Regions from separate parts of the Homo sapiens genome. Here region 1 is linked to region 2. The links are contacts of gene promoters, found by promoter capture Hi-C in blood cells and fetal thymus (Javierre and others, 2016). All regions are on one chromosome and are shown on one strand. Each heading gives the region's core, a stretch centred on a gene start or on the middle of the fragment in contact. The rest is flanking DNA. Distances are from core to core; before and after follow the strand shown. Region 1 holds the start of SCOC-AS1 (SCOC antisense RNA 1). Region 2 holds the start of TBC1D9-AS1 (TBC1D9 antisense RNA 1).

Evidence for each region. Contacts are between HindIII fragments. The CHiCAGO score rates a contact against its expected background, and 5 or more counts as called.
Region 1: a contact is called between a fragment that was not itself captured here and the fragment with the promoter of TBC1D9-AS1 in region 2, in 1 of 17 cell types (total B cells). The highest score is 6.3, in total B cells.

What each region holds. Positions count from the first base shown.
Region 1 is chr4:140,368,675-140,375,571 of GRCh38, forward strand. SCOC-AS1 (SCOC antisense RNA 1) reads right to left here and starts at 4,718. Exons shown (of 5, transcript NR_033939.1): 1 at 4,589-4,718; 2 at 636-676. It overlaps SCOC (short coiled-coil protein), which reads left to right and starts at 4,972. Exons shown (of 4, transcript NM_001153484.2): 1 at 4,972-5,043. RefSeq lists enhancers at 4,655-5,156, 4,852-4,901 and a silencer at 5,062-5,261. The HindIII fragment of the contact is 4,110 bases long and covers 335-4,444 here.
Region 2 is chr4:140,708,931-140,716,437 of GRCh38, forward strand. TBC1D9-AS1 (TBC1D9 antisense RNA 1) reads left to right here and starts at 3,238. Exons shown (of 2, transcript XR_007058283.1): 1 at 3,238-3,353; 2 at 6,866-7,166. The region is part of intron 1 of TBC1D9 (TBC1 domain family member 9); the gene reads right to left. The HindIII fragment of the contact is 8,622 bases long and covers 2,084-7,507 here.

The sequences.
Region 1 (6,897 bases), core at 1,140-3,639, 340 kb before region 2:
AGGTAAGAGCGAGGGTATAGTAATCTAAGTTGCAGGAGAAAAGGCGCAGGTAGGGGAATGGTGAATGATGCATTCATCTTGTGTGCAGCAAATCAGCACTTTACATGAAATAGGGTGAACATAGAGTAGCTACCTATGGAGATATTTAACCTTTTATCTGTAGCTATCTGCTTAGGAACAGAAGAAAAGGCAGCTTCTTGCATGACTCAGCTTTCAGCTTATTTTTTTCCTTCTGGCAGAGTGAACTGGAGTCTCACGTTTTTATTCTCCTTTCACAGCACCGAGACTGCACAGAATCATTCCTAATTATTTCCATTTTTATGATAAAGTCCAAAGCTTGATTCCATAAAGACCTTGAAATCCTTTGGAATTCTTGCTTGAAAAAACTCTAAAAGTACATTGGTAATTTCTTACATTCCCTCTACCTATTGAACAAATAAATGAAAATGACTCATCAAATTTATTTACTTTTGGTTATTATCAGAAATTATAATCTTGAGAAAGTATACATGAACACCTTAATTTACCAAATAGCTATATGGTATACTGTTGAGTATAGTATACTAGGCTGTAGTATACAATTACGTCTAGTTTTGAAATCAAGTTTTAACAAATAGGTTATATTCTTTACTCACCAAATTCAGAACAGCATTCATTCTCCAATGAATTCAATAACCTTTCAAGTGAAAAAAATGAGTAAAAAAGAAAATGTGAGTTCTTATTTAGGAATGAGATGGAACATGTTCTGCAAATTAATGAGCTTAAAGCATCAGACAACACACCTGGTTATACTTGAAAGTTATCAAAAATGCTTCCATTTAGCATATTTCACCTTAAATATCCACAGTACGTTTAGAACCCTCTAATTAAGACAAAATAGCAGCTTGTATGTGCACAATGAGAGTGTGCCAGACTGGAACATCAAAAAGATATTGGAAGTTCTCTATTTCATTATTTATCATTTCTTCCCCCACATAATATATTGCCTTGTACAGTTTTCAATTAGGACTTCCCCCATTCTCTAGGAAAAAAAATGTAATTTTGTGCCTTTATTTAGATGAACTATATTATCAATATTCACATAGTCCAGGTCGCATGAATGTTCACCTTATAATCAAATATTTCTATGCAATCTCAGTGGTTTCTATTTGTACTTATAGCCTTTCCTTATTCAGAAGGGGGATTTTTTTTTTTTTTTTTTTTTTTTTTTTTTTTTTTTTTTAGATGGAGTTTCGCTCTTGTTGTCCAGGTTGGAGTGCAATGGCGCCATCTCAGCTCACTACAACCTCCACCTCCTGGGTTCAAGCAGTTCTCCTGCTTCAGCCTCCCAAGTCTGAAAGCTGAAAATAAGCTGAAAGCTGAGTCATGCAAGAGCTGCCTTTTTATGTTTACATTTTAGTTTAAAATTACTTTCTAATTTTTTTGTGTGTGACTTCCCCTGTGACCCATGGTTTGTTTAGAAGTACATAGTTTGATTTCCAACTATTTGGAGATTTACAAATATCTTTCTGTTACTGATTTCTAGTTTAATTTGTGGGTAGAGACAATAATTTTTACTGTTTCAATTATTTTAAATTTGCTGAGATTTGTTTGATGATACACAGTGGAGTCTATTTTGATGAATTTTCCAAGTGCATTGGAAAAGAAAGCATGTTCTTCAGTTATTGGGTGCAATGTTCTACAAATGTCCATTAGGTCAAGTTGGCTGATAGGATTGTTCAGGTCTTCTATATCAATAGTTCAGAAATTTGCCAGCCTTTTTTCAAAATCACCTTCGTAACTTTCAAAAATACTAATGCCTGTATCTCACTCCTTAAGACTGTAATTTATTCTGAGGTGTGGTCTGTTCACTAGAATAATTAAAAGATTCCCAGGTGATTCTAATATACTGAAAAGTTTGGGACCTGAGTTCTGTATACTTAAATTATCTGTATAGTTGTTTTACAAATTGCAGAGCAGGGAGTAATGAACTGTTTGAATTCAATTAATTTTTGATTCATTTCTATTTTGTAGCACTGTGGTTAGGATTTTGTGTCTTCTTGATGAATATGCCCCTTTATCTAATTGTTTTAATGTTATTTTACCTAATTATTAGTGAAGGTAAACATTTTTTAAAAACCTTTCTGGCCGTTCAGTTTTCCTCTTCTGTAAGTGGCCTACTTACGTTATTTGCATATATTTATCTTGAGTTGTCTTTTTCTTACTGATTTGTCTGAATTCTTTTTTTTTTTTTTGAGACGGAGTCTCACCCTGTCGCCCAGGCTGGAGTGCAGTGGCACCATGTCACTGCAAGCTCTGCCTCCTGGGTTCATGCCACTCTCCTGCCTCAGCCTCCCGAGTAGCTGGGACTACAGGCGCCCGCCACCACGCCCAGCTAATTTTTTGTATTTTTAGTAGAGACGGGGTTTCACCGTGTTAGCCAGGATGGTCTCAATCTCCTGACCTCGTGATCCACCCGCCTCGACCTCCCAAAGTGCTGGGATTACAGCCGTGAGCCACCGCGCCTGGCCTGAATTCTTTATATTTTGAGAGTTTTACTATATTCTGCCAACCTGTGGCTTGTTTTTTAACTTGATTAGAGATGGCTTCTCTTCTGTTTGTAAAACTTCCAAATTTTAAAATAATCAATATTTTACATCTTTCCTTAATGAATCGTGCTGTTTCTTCCCTACGGCGATATACAGACATACGCTTTTCTTCTAAAAGTTTAGAGTTTTGTTTGTCACATTTTGGATCATTATTTCATTTGGAATTTAGTTTTATTTCTGTCGTGGTATCAGGATTGAATTTCTTATTTTTATATAAATAGCCAATTTAACTAGAACCACCATAACTTGTGTTTTCTATATCCCACGAACAGTTACTATACTAATTTACACTCCCAACAGTAATGAATAATAGTTTTTTCCCCACAACCTTAGAAACAGTTATTCCTCACCAGACATCTTTATTGTATACCAACTTCCAGGTACCCTTTTTTTCCTAATTTTCTTTTTGTCTATTCTTGTGTCAATACCACTTTTTTAAAAGTTGCTTTAAAATAGAATTACCATATGATTCAGCACAAATTAACACACACTTCTGGGTGTATATCCAAAAGAACTGAAAAGAGGGTCTCAAAGAGACATTTGCACACCCATGTCCATAGCAGTATTATTCACAATAGCCAAAAGGAGGAAGCAACCTAAGCGTCCACTGATAGATGAATAAACAAAATGTGGCATAATACACATAATAAATGATATATAGAACTATTCAGCCTTAAAAAGGAAGTTCTGCAATATGCTATAACATGGATGAACTCTGAGGCATTATGCTAAATGAAATAAGCCAGTCATAAAAGGGCAAATTCTGTATTATTCCACTTAGGTGAGGTACCTAGAGTAGTCAAACTGATAAACACAAAGTAAGATGATTACTGCCAGAGGATGAGGGGAATAGGAAATGGAGAGTTGCTCTTTAATAGGTATACAGTTTTAGTTTGGCAAGATGAAAAGAGAGATTGGTTCTGGAGATTGGTTGGAGAACAATGTGGAATGTATCTTATACTACTGAAGTTAAAAATGGTTAAGATGGTAAATTTTATTCTATGTATATTTCACTACAATTAAAAATATTTAAAAATACTGTTCTAGCAAAAACAAAAGGTTGCTTTTAATAGTTTCTCTTGATCTTTGGTGTCCTGCAATTTCACCGTTGCATAGAATTCTTATATTAATCCTGCTCAAGAATAAGTACTTCTTGAATCTGAAAATTCAAATATTCCACAATCTTGGAAAATTCTTAGTTATTACTCTTTGAATACTGCCTGCATCCATTCTCTCTAGTCTCTCTTTTTTGGCACTCCTATTAGATTTATGTTGGATTTTTTTTCATTTATTTAGCTCCTACATTGCATTCTAGTAAATTTCCTCAAACTGAATATTGCAGTCGCAGCCAAATGCATAGTTCTCAAAACACTGAATAGAAGATATTTTTATATAGCTCTTAAAATGATTAAGGCGATGTGTCAGCAAACTGTGCCAGAAGTAAAAAGTCAAGAAACAGGGAGACATAAGGCTTGTCTCTACAGCTTAGGAGGCTGTGCCAAAGCCAAAATAATAATGTATTGCTGTGGATGTCTACCTTGTACTCAACGAATATTAAAGCAGGATGCCGCTTTGTGTCAAGTACTAGATTACGATGAACGGTGTCACGAAGAACACTCCACTCTTGATACCGTATATGTGACCTTGAGCAAGAAATGTGTTCACGCTCAGGCTTCAGTTCCTTTCTGTGGGTTGCTGTGAGGCTCCACAGGGGTAAGGTAAGCACAAGTGCTATGCCTCAGTACCACTAGGGTATTTTCTCAATTCTAAAATATTAAATGGCCACGCACTACAGATTTAATAATAGTTTCGGAGGAGGGGCGTGAGGAGAGGAACATTCCACTAGCTCAACTATAAGCTTTCCGATTTCGGAAATAAGAAAAATATGAAAAAGTCTGCTTTTAGAATTAAGGAACGACGGTGTCGCGTTGACTTTCTCTGCTTGGTTCGCAAACGCTCTTTTCTCGAACTTGAATGACTTCTCTGTCGCTCATACCAACCTCTTTCCTGAATGACTTCTCTGTCGCTCATACCAGCCTCTTTCCTGATTTTCCACACTGGGATTCTCACTCCAATTCTCAGGTTTCCTGATAGACCTGATGAGCCGCTTCACCAGCGCCGCTTAGCTTCGCTTCTTTACTGTCATTGGCTGTCGCTGTTCCAGGTCCCGCCCACAGCGACCTCAATCCTGATTGGATGTCAGTGTCCTTTTGTTATGGCAAAGGTGGATCCCGGTGCTTTGAGATTGGACGACTGGGGTGAGGCGGGCAGCTAATGCGCAGGCGTGTATTCTCGAGTCAGGATTGGCGGGCGAGCGGCTGGGACGGGATGGGATTCTTCTCACGGCGCACGTTCTGTGGGCGGAGTGGGCGGAGCTGCCGGGGTCAGTTGGTCCAAGTGTCCCGGCCTGAGGTGTCGGCCGGATCCCTCCTTCTCCCGGCGCCTCAAGCGGAAGGTGAGGGCCGTCCCGGGCAGCGGAGGGCCTGGCCCCAGGCGACTAGAGCTGCATCCTCAGTACCTCCGAGGGCCTGGAGGGCGGGGCGGGCTGGACGCGGCCCTGCGCACCGGGGGCCCGGGAGGAGCGGTCTCGGGCCTGGGCATTTGGTGGGCGGCGGAGGCCTGGCTCCCGGCAGAACCCTTGCGCGACCTCTTTTTCTCCTGTTTTCGTTGTCAGGCCCAGGCGTTCTTTGGGAGAGGGACCTCTCGCGGTCCCTGACGCAGACATCGTGTAGCTTTCTCCCCGCAGCTCCTGGGTCGGGAGCCGCTTTGCAGCTCTCGGCTCTGGAATTGGACTGCGGGAGGGGCGTTTGGGTGGAATGGGACCTGGCACGCCTGGACCTTCCCGTGGCTGCTCTGCGAGAGCCTGAGAGATGGGAGGGGAGGCTGAGGTGGGGAGGGAGCCTAGAGAGCCGTAAAATAAGGATTGGACCATTTTTCCAGGCGGCGAAAGCGGCACCTGGGTTTGTTTCCTGATCGTCTTCTCCCCCAGAGTCCTGCTGAACAAGTTTTGGGAAGAAAGGTTTGGAAAGGAGAAAGAGGATACATTCCTGAAAGGCAGGGCTTCTGTTATACAGTGTGTCAACCTCACACTATTACGCAACAATAAGGACAGATGCCATTCCAGGTTGCCAACACGTTTTCTATGCCCGAGGACCCAAAGCTGTGCCCATGTATTCTGGTACCTCTATTCCTGATTAAAATCAGTGTAGCTAGCCATTCTCTGAGAGTATAGCTTCCATTTAAATCCTCATTTGGCCAAACAGTTCCTTGATCTTGTGGAATTTGAAACTGGATTTATTTAACCAGGACAAGTCAAAGCAGAACTTGAACAGATCTGAACAGACATTATATTGAAGTTCCGTAGCTTGAAGGGAATGGAGTTTATTTTCAGTTGCTTAGTAAAGATTCCAGAGGAGTTTGACATCAGTGGTAGCAAAATGTTTGGCAAACTTAAGATTAGGGCCATATTAAAGTTTTTTCCATTGCATAATGGAAAAAGCATGGACTGTGAAGTTAGACCTGGGTTCAAATTCTTGGTAGAGACATTGGCTGTGAAACCTCTGAAACAGCTTTTCTGAAAGATATATAGACTTTCTGAAATTTAGTGTCCATATCTGTAAATTGCAGTTTCCTTCTGTTGATTTGATGAAATAACATATGCAAAGCATTTAGCACATTAATGCACGAAGACATTATTTTAGCAGTCTTAGTAGTTCTCCAGTATGACAGATGGTGAAATCAATTTTAGATGCAGAAAAGTTGAGTGGCTGAAGATGGACGGGTATTAGGAAAAAGTCTCAAAATCTGCAGGCTCAGATGTGACAATAGTTGTGGTGGAATGGTGGAAAAAACACTGGGCATTTGTTGTAGTCTTGGCCCTGTTGCTAACTACTTCTGTGGTCTTCAGTAAGCCATTGTCATCTTTGGCCTTGATTTTGTAAAATGAAGCAGCTGGACCAGATGGTTTTCTTTAAATTCTTTCTGTTGCCCAAATTAGAGCTAAAAGGTAGAGAAGACGATAGCAGACATTTATTGAATACCTACTATGTACTAGGTACTGTTGCCAACACATTGTATCTATCCACTCATTCTCACAACAAACCCATGAGATACGTACGGTTATTATCCACATTTTACAAATGAGGAAACTTAAGGCCGAGGTGTTAACCTTGCCCAGGGTTCCAGAGCTTATAAATTGCAGAGCTAGGATTTGAATCCAGGTAATCTGAATCCATATTGTTAATCATTGTGCCAGGCTGCCTCTTGAGGAGAGTGATATTGTGGATATTGTACACTATTAGAGATAACT
Region 2 (7,507 bases), core at 1,988-4,487:
GCATGGATAGACATGTAACCAATCCCAATACTTGGATACTACCTTCAGTGTCGAATGGTGGGAGCAATTTTGTTTTCATAAGTATCATACATTCTTCCACTCTCCAGCATCTCTAGATAAAAATGGTTCTCAACAAGCCTACTATGGAATGTTATTGTTTTAAACGGCCATCCACAACTCTTTCCTCTCAATTTCAATAGCTGCTTCTCATAACCCCATTCTAGCTGCCCCTGTATCATGGCTGCCTTCAAGGATGACACCGTTACCTGTGGGGAAGGAACCAGCCTTATCTCTCTCTCTCTCTCTCTCTCTCTCTCTCACACACACACACACACACACACACACACACACACACACACCCCAATTCATCATTGTTCGTCAAAAGATGAATTAAGAAGTCTAAGAAATACACTGTTGACTCAATTAGGAGAGTGCTTCTCAAACATTGTGGCTAAGAATCAGTTTTGCCAACTGGGGGACGGGGCTGAAAAAAATCAGTTTTTCTTTGTTTTTTAGTTTTCAATCTGTTACAGACTGACACTTTTGTAAAAATATGATGCATATGGAATACTAAAAAAAAAAAAGACATAAAAAATACAAGCTTCCAATTTTTTGATTAAATTTAACAGACAATTGTTCTAGGTTCCTAAATGCTTAATCTCAATATCTGTTCTTAGCTGGAGGCAGACTGGTTAACAGTTTAAAATTTGGTACTTTAAGTCAGCAGTCCCCAACCTTTTGGCACCAGGGACTGGTTTCATGGAAGACAATTTTTCCATGGACCAGAGTTGGGGGTGGGGTGGTCTGGGGATGGTTTGAGGATGAAACTGTTCCACCTCAGATCATCAGGCATTAGATTGTCTTAAGGAGCTTGCAACCTAGATCCCTTGCATGTGCAGTTCGCAATAGGGTTCTCGTGCCTGTAAGAACCTAATGCTGCAGTTGATTTGAAACGAGGTGGAGCTCAAATGCTCCCTCACCTGCCACTCACCTCCTGCTGTGCAGCCCAGTTCCTAACAGGCCACGGACTGACAGGTACTTGTCTGCAGCCTGACAGTCAGGAACCCCTGCTTTAAACAGTATTAAATTAGGGGAGGAGAGGCTCTAGGGCAGTCATGTTCTTGGGACTGTGTTTCTTAGAATCATTTATATAGCTTTACAGAGCACACGCAATTCTATAACTCTCATTTGGGAAAAAATGACTGTTTTCACAATGCAAACCAATATAAAACTCAACAAACTAACATAAAACTCAACATATGTGAATGAAGGAGGCATGAGGGTTTTGTTGTATGTTTATCCCGAGGGGCACTGGTTAAAAAGTGCTGGGAATATGAACTAGTGTGTTAGGTGATCCCCGAGAGACCCCTGCCTCATTTCTTACAAAGAGGGGAGTGAGCTAAAGGGAGAAGAATGACAAAGCTAAGAGAGGTGGAGCGCCCACTCTGTAGAATTTTAAGCAGTATTCTGGATCACAGGGTCTTTGATATACATGTTCATATAAGTACTCACAAAGTAAATGCTCAACAAGAGAGAGAGAAGCCGTGACTTTCATATTTTCCACCTCAAAAGATAAAACACAGGCTGGGTTATGACTAAACAAACAGAGCAGAAAACTAAAATCTGAAGAGCATTTTATCTGTATCCAATTAGTATGTGCTGCTCAAATCTCCTAAGCACCCTCAAAAGGCCATGTCTTCCAGGAGCTGTTCCATTTCCCCTGCAAGCCCATCTCTTAAAGTCACAAGCACCTGCTCCTGCATAAAGTGAGAACAGTTGGAATGGATTTTTCCTTCTCCTGGGTGGGGGGGTGGTCTGAGGAAGGAATGATTCAAATACTTTATTACTGCAATACCTTGCTCTACACCCTAATCAGGACCAACTACATAATCTGTGGGGCCCAGTGCAAAAAGAATATTCAGGACCCCTTGTTAAAAAATTCTTCAGAATTTCAAGGCAGCAGCAGTAGAATATTAAGCCAAGCCCAGCGCTTTTCTAAGTGTAGGTTCCTGTGTACAAGCATACCTAGGAAGCTGGCCTTGAAACCCCAGCAGTGTGTTGGCTCATTCTTTCCCCACGAACAAGCTTGCTGCTTTCAGACTTTGTGCAGGACTCAAATCTGCTCTGATACGGACCAGTGAGGACAATGTGATTGAAGTTATTAAAAAATTACGCCAAGCCTTGTGTGATCTAATTCCTCAAAGAAGCCCCTCAAAAGGCGGGGGCTTAATTTAATTTCCCCTCAAGTCCCGTAATAGGAAAGTGGATGCTATTGTCTTAGATTTACAGCTGCTTCTGTGTGCAACAGGAAGTTATATTGATTCTAATCTTGGCTGTAGAGGCGGGTCTGAAAACCTAAAACTCAAAGGTCAAGGTCAGCCAAGGTCAACCTTGAGAGGTAGGAAGGAGGGGCCTTTTTGGTGTGGTAGGAAGAGTTCATCGCTATGAAGCCCACCTCTGTTTCTAAGAGATTAGCTATATCAATCCCCTCCTGGATACCTGGGGGCAATACCCCTCAGATCCCTTCTCTCAGGAAGGCCACATTTGCAGAAGCCACTCACTGTCCTGAGATGTCAACCCTTCTTCTAATTCATGTATCCTCTTACGTAATTCAACTGCCAATAATTGAGAGCATCGATAAGCTGAAGAACAACTTGGCAACGAAATAATATGAAATAGAAATAATTCTGAATTCAAAATTACATTTAGGTAATGACCTACAATGTCTAAATAAATTATAGTACATTGATATAATATGTAGACATTTAAAATCATACCTTCAAGTAATTATTTCATGACATGGTGAAATGCACCTAGCATATGAAAAACAGCACAAAACTAATTACTATTCTGTATGATCCCAATTTGTCTAAAAAAGTATAATATAACCTATATTACAAATTACAATACATGTATTAATTTTAAAGAATACAAAACTAAATATGAATATTAACATTAGTAGGTGAGATGACAATTCTGCTATTTTATGGTCTTCTGTGTTTTCAAAAATATCTCAAATGTACATTCAATACATTTATGATGAGAAAACAAAAAATATATAATTACCTCCAACCTTTTATTTTGGGCTTTTTTTACTCAAAGAGAGCTCATGCCATCAAGCAAACAGACAGTTACCATGGTTATACTAACGCTGCTACTTCACAACAGATAACCACAGGTTAGAAATCTTGTTGCTAGGTTGCAACATGCTAGCTAAGAGTCCATATCTAAATGAGAGGCTCCCTCAAAAACACACTTCCTTGGAGAGGGACCTGGCGTTTACATTTTAGAAATTTTTTTTTGAAGTTCATTTTTTCCCTCTGGTATACGGAGTTCATCAATGCTACAAACTGGTACGTATTCATACACACTGAATCACATTCCTTACTCCAGTTGCAGGCACTTGATGTTTAATAACTAGTTTATCTCAAGTCAGGAAGTTTACAGTGTCAAAATGAATCAAATTGATTTTACCATTTTTATCAAGTATTCTCTGAATATGCTCTTTAAAAAAAAAGAATATATATATATGCCAGGTGCGGTGGCTCAGGCCTGTAATCCCAGCACTTTGGGAGGCCCAGGCGGGCAAATCACGAGGTCAAGAGTTCGAGACCAGCCTAGCCAACATGGTGAAAGCCCATCTCTACTAAAAATACAAAAAATTAGCTAGGCGTAGTGGCGGGCGCCTGTTGTCCCAGCTACTCAGGAGGCTGAGGCAGGAGAATTGCTTGAACCCGGGAGGCGGAGGTTGCAGTGAAGCCGAGATCACGCCATTGTACTCCAGCCCGGGCAAGAGAGTGAGACTCCATCTCAAAAAAATAGATAGATAGATAGATAGATAGATAGATAGATAGATAAATGGGATCCTGCTCTGTTGCCCATGCTGGAATGCAGTGGCATGATTGTTTCCGGAACAAACTGAGGGTCGGGCTGCTATTTCTCATGGCCTAATAACGAGATGCAAATGAACTGGGGAGGAAGAAAGTTTTTATTTCTGCAACCGGTTACAGGGAGAAGGCCTGGAAATTATCACCAGACCAACTCAAAATTACAGTTTTCCAGAGCTTATATACCTTCTAAGCTATATGTCTACATGTAAGTGTGCATTCATCTAAAGACATAGGTGATTAACTTCTTTTAATCTATAACTAAGGTCTGAGTCTTGAGGTTAATTTTTAAATTTTTTTATAGAAATGGGGGTCTCATTACGTTGCCCAGGCTGGTCTACAACTCCTGGGCTCAAGGGATCCTCCCACTTTGGCCTCCCAAAGCACTGGGATTACAGGTGTGAGCCGCCTCATGGGCCTTCCACTGAGTATTCATTAAATCTCTAAGTACCCATGGTGTTGCCTTCAGCTACATATAAGCAAGACAAAGAAAAAAGCCCAGGAGACCAGCCACTCTGTGCTTATATTAACAAAGGAAATGCCAGGAAAGATGCATATTAAACTTAATAATGGTTACCTCTTGGGAATGAGATTGATATGGCAGAAATCAGAAACATTTTTTATTATTTGAAATATATTTTTAGGCCAGGTACAGTGGACTGTAATCCCAGGACTTTGGGAGGCCAAGGTGGGAAGACCACTTGAGCCCAGGAGTCTGAGACAGCCTGGGCAATAATTAAGACTTTGTCTCTACAAAAAAAATATTAAAAATTAAGCAAGGTGTAGTGGTGCATGCCTGTAGTTCCAGCTACTTGGGAGACTGAGGCAGGAGGATCACTTGAGCCCAGGAGGTAGAGGGTGCAGTGAGTTAAGACCACACCCTGCACTTCAGCCTGGGAGACAGAGTGAGACCCTATCTCTGAAAAAGAATTAAAAAAAAAAAACTATATTTTTTAAAGTAATTTCTATACTATTGGAACTATACACTATAAAACATTGTACTTTTATAATTTGTACAATGTACATGTATTATAATCAAATAATGAACCACTAGGTTGGTGCAAAAGTAATTGCAGTTTTTAATACTATAGGATCAATGAAACATTAAAGATCCTACTATAAGAGTTTGTAAATGATGAAGCCACTTAACCAATCAGCTCCTGCTGCTTTCTGTAAAGGTCACTGGCAAAAATCAGAATCGGTAACCCTTGGCATAATATTAGCCTGGGGGGCTGAAGAGGTGAATGCAAGATGATACAGAATAAGGCAACCTTGTGCAGCCTTTCACCAGGGACTTTGATTAGTGCAAACACACAAGGCTAAAACGTGGCCTAGGATGAAAAGATGAGCCACTTCCCTTGTTGGCAAAAAAGAGTCAAGCTCTGTAAAATATTTAAAGAGGTTTATTCTGAGCCAAATATGAGTGTTCAAGGCCTGAGGCAGTCTCAAGAGGTCCTGAGAACATGTACCCATGGTGGCTGGGTTGCAGCTTGGTTTTATATGTTTTACAGGGACATAAGACATCAATCAACACATGTAAGGTGTATATCAACTTGGTCTGGACAGGAGGAACCACTCAAAGTGGGGGCTTCTGGGTCTTTGGTGGATTCAAGGATTTTCTTAATGGCGATTGAAAGTTATGATCTAAAGACTTCTAATCGTTAGAAAGAAGTGGTTGGGTTAAGATAAGGGGTTATGGAGACCAAAATTCTTATTATTTAGATGATGTCTCATAGGTGGCCACTCTGAGAGGCAACAGACAGCAAATGTTTTCTCTTCAGACCTTTACAAGGTGCTAAGCTCTGAGCTAATCTCTTCAGGATCAGAAAAAGACCTGAAAAGGGAAGACTTTCTACAAAATGTACATTTCCTCCATAAGAGATAGCTTTCCAGGACCATTTTAAAACATGCTAAAGAAATACATTTTGGGGTAAAATAATTTTTTCAGAGTCTGCTCTCTGTCATGTGATGCTATACTAGAGTCAGGTTGGAATTAGGCACCTTACTGCTACAAAGAGTCTGTTTTGGAGCAGGCATAGTGGCTCATGCCTGTAATCCCAGAATTTTGGGAGGCTGAAGCAGGAAGATTGTTTGAGCCCAGGAGACCAGCTCGGGCAACACAGTGAGATCCTGTCTCTACAAAAAAATTTAAAAATTAGCCAGGTGTGGCGTTGTGCACCTATAGCCCTAGCTACTCGGGAGGCTAAGGTGGGAGGATTTTTTGAGGCCAGGAGAGATCGAGGCTGCAGTAAGCAGTAGCCCCACCACTGCACTCCAACCTGGGTGACAGAGTGAGACCCTGTCTCAAAACAAACAAACGAACAAACAAACAAAGCAAGTCTGTTTTGTCAGTCTTAAGATCTCTGTTTTAATATTAATACTGGTCAGTTGTGCCTGAATTCCAAAGGAAGGAGAGTATAATGAGGCATGTCTGACCCCCCTTTCTCATCACGGCCTGAACTAGTTTTTCAGGTTTACTTTGGAATCCCCTTGGCTGACAGAAGGGGTCCAATCAATCAGTTGGGGGAGCTTAGAATTTTCAGTTTATACCCTCCAGTTATCTTGCTTCTGGTCTTTCAGACTGGCTGCAGTTTGCATACATCCTGGTAACAAAGCCCAGCAAGTTGAATTCATAGTACCTTGAATGACTCCTGTTCCTTATAACCCAAAGTGACCAACAAAAACCCTAACTAACCCCTTTGGCTCCATCTGGATAGGCTCTTTGAGTAAATGTTCCCTTCCACACTATAGCAAGTTATATAAGAAGGTGCAAAGGCATTAACAGCAATAATGTTTTCCAGTCTTGCATCCAAATATTCTAACACAGATAAAAATAGTGGCTACAGACTGTAATTAAAACAATCATGCTATTTGCAAGGGAGAGATACAGTAGCAGCCTGGCTTGATTCCTGGGAGTTTCGTGGAACCTCATCACTTTGAGGGCAAGCAACTCCACCTGCATTCCATTTCTATCTTAGCCTTTATCCACCTGGATAAGACTGAGGGACCTCACAGACAAATTTCATTTTGTGATGGATAACGTGGGAGCAATCTTCAGCTAAAGTCTAGATAAAGCCTTAAAGAGAAAATTGAGCTCGGAAGACCTGAAAATAAAGAAAACACCCTGGCACCAACAAGGGAGAGAAACAAAACAAAGAAGCTCACCAAAGATGGTTTGACTGTGCAAAACCATGGGTACGGTAACCAGTAACACCCTTATTTTATCAAGATGTCTATTGTAACAGGATGTGTTTTCAATAAATGTAAATGACCTGTAAATGTAGATAAGTCCCTTACAGAATATATTAGGCCCAACTGAAATTTTCTAAGTAGTTTAGTCATGGCCTGAAGATAGCTTGAAACCTGTTTTGAAAAACATTGATAATAGGTTGGACACAGTGGGTCATGCCCATAATCCCAACATTTTGGGAAGCTAAGGAAGGAGGATTGCTTGAGCCCAGGAGTTGGAGACCAGCAAGGGCAACACAGTGAGACTCCTATGTCTACAAAAAGTTTTTTAAAAATCAGCTGGGTGTAGTGGAGCTTGCCTAGAGTCCCAGCTACTTGGGAGGCTGAGGTGAGAGAATCCCTCGAACCTGGAGATGGAAGTTGCAGAGAGC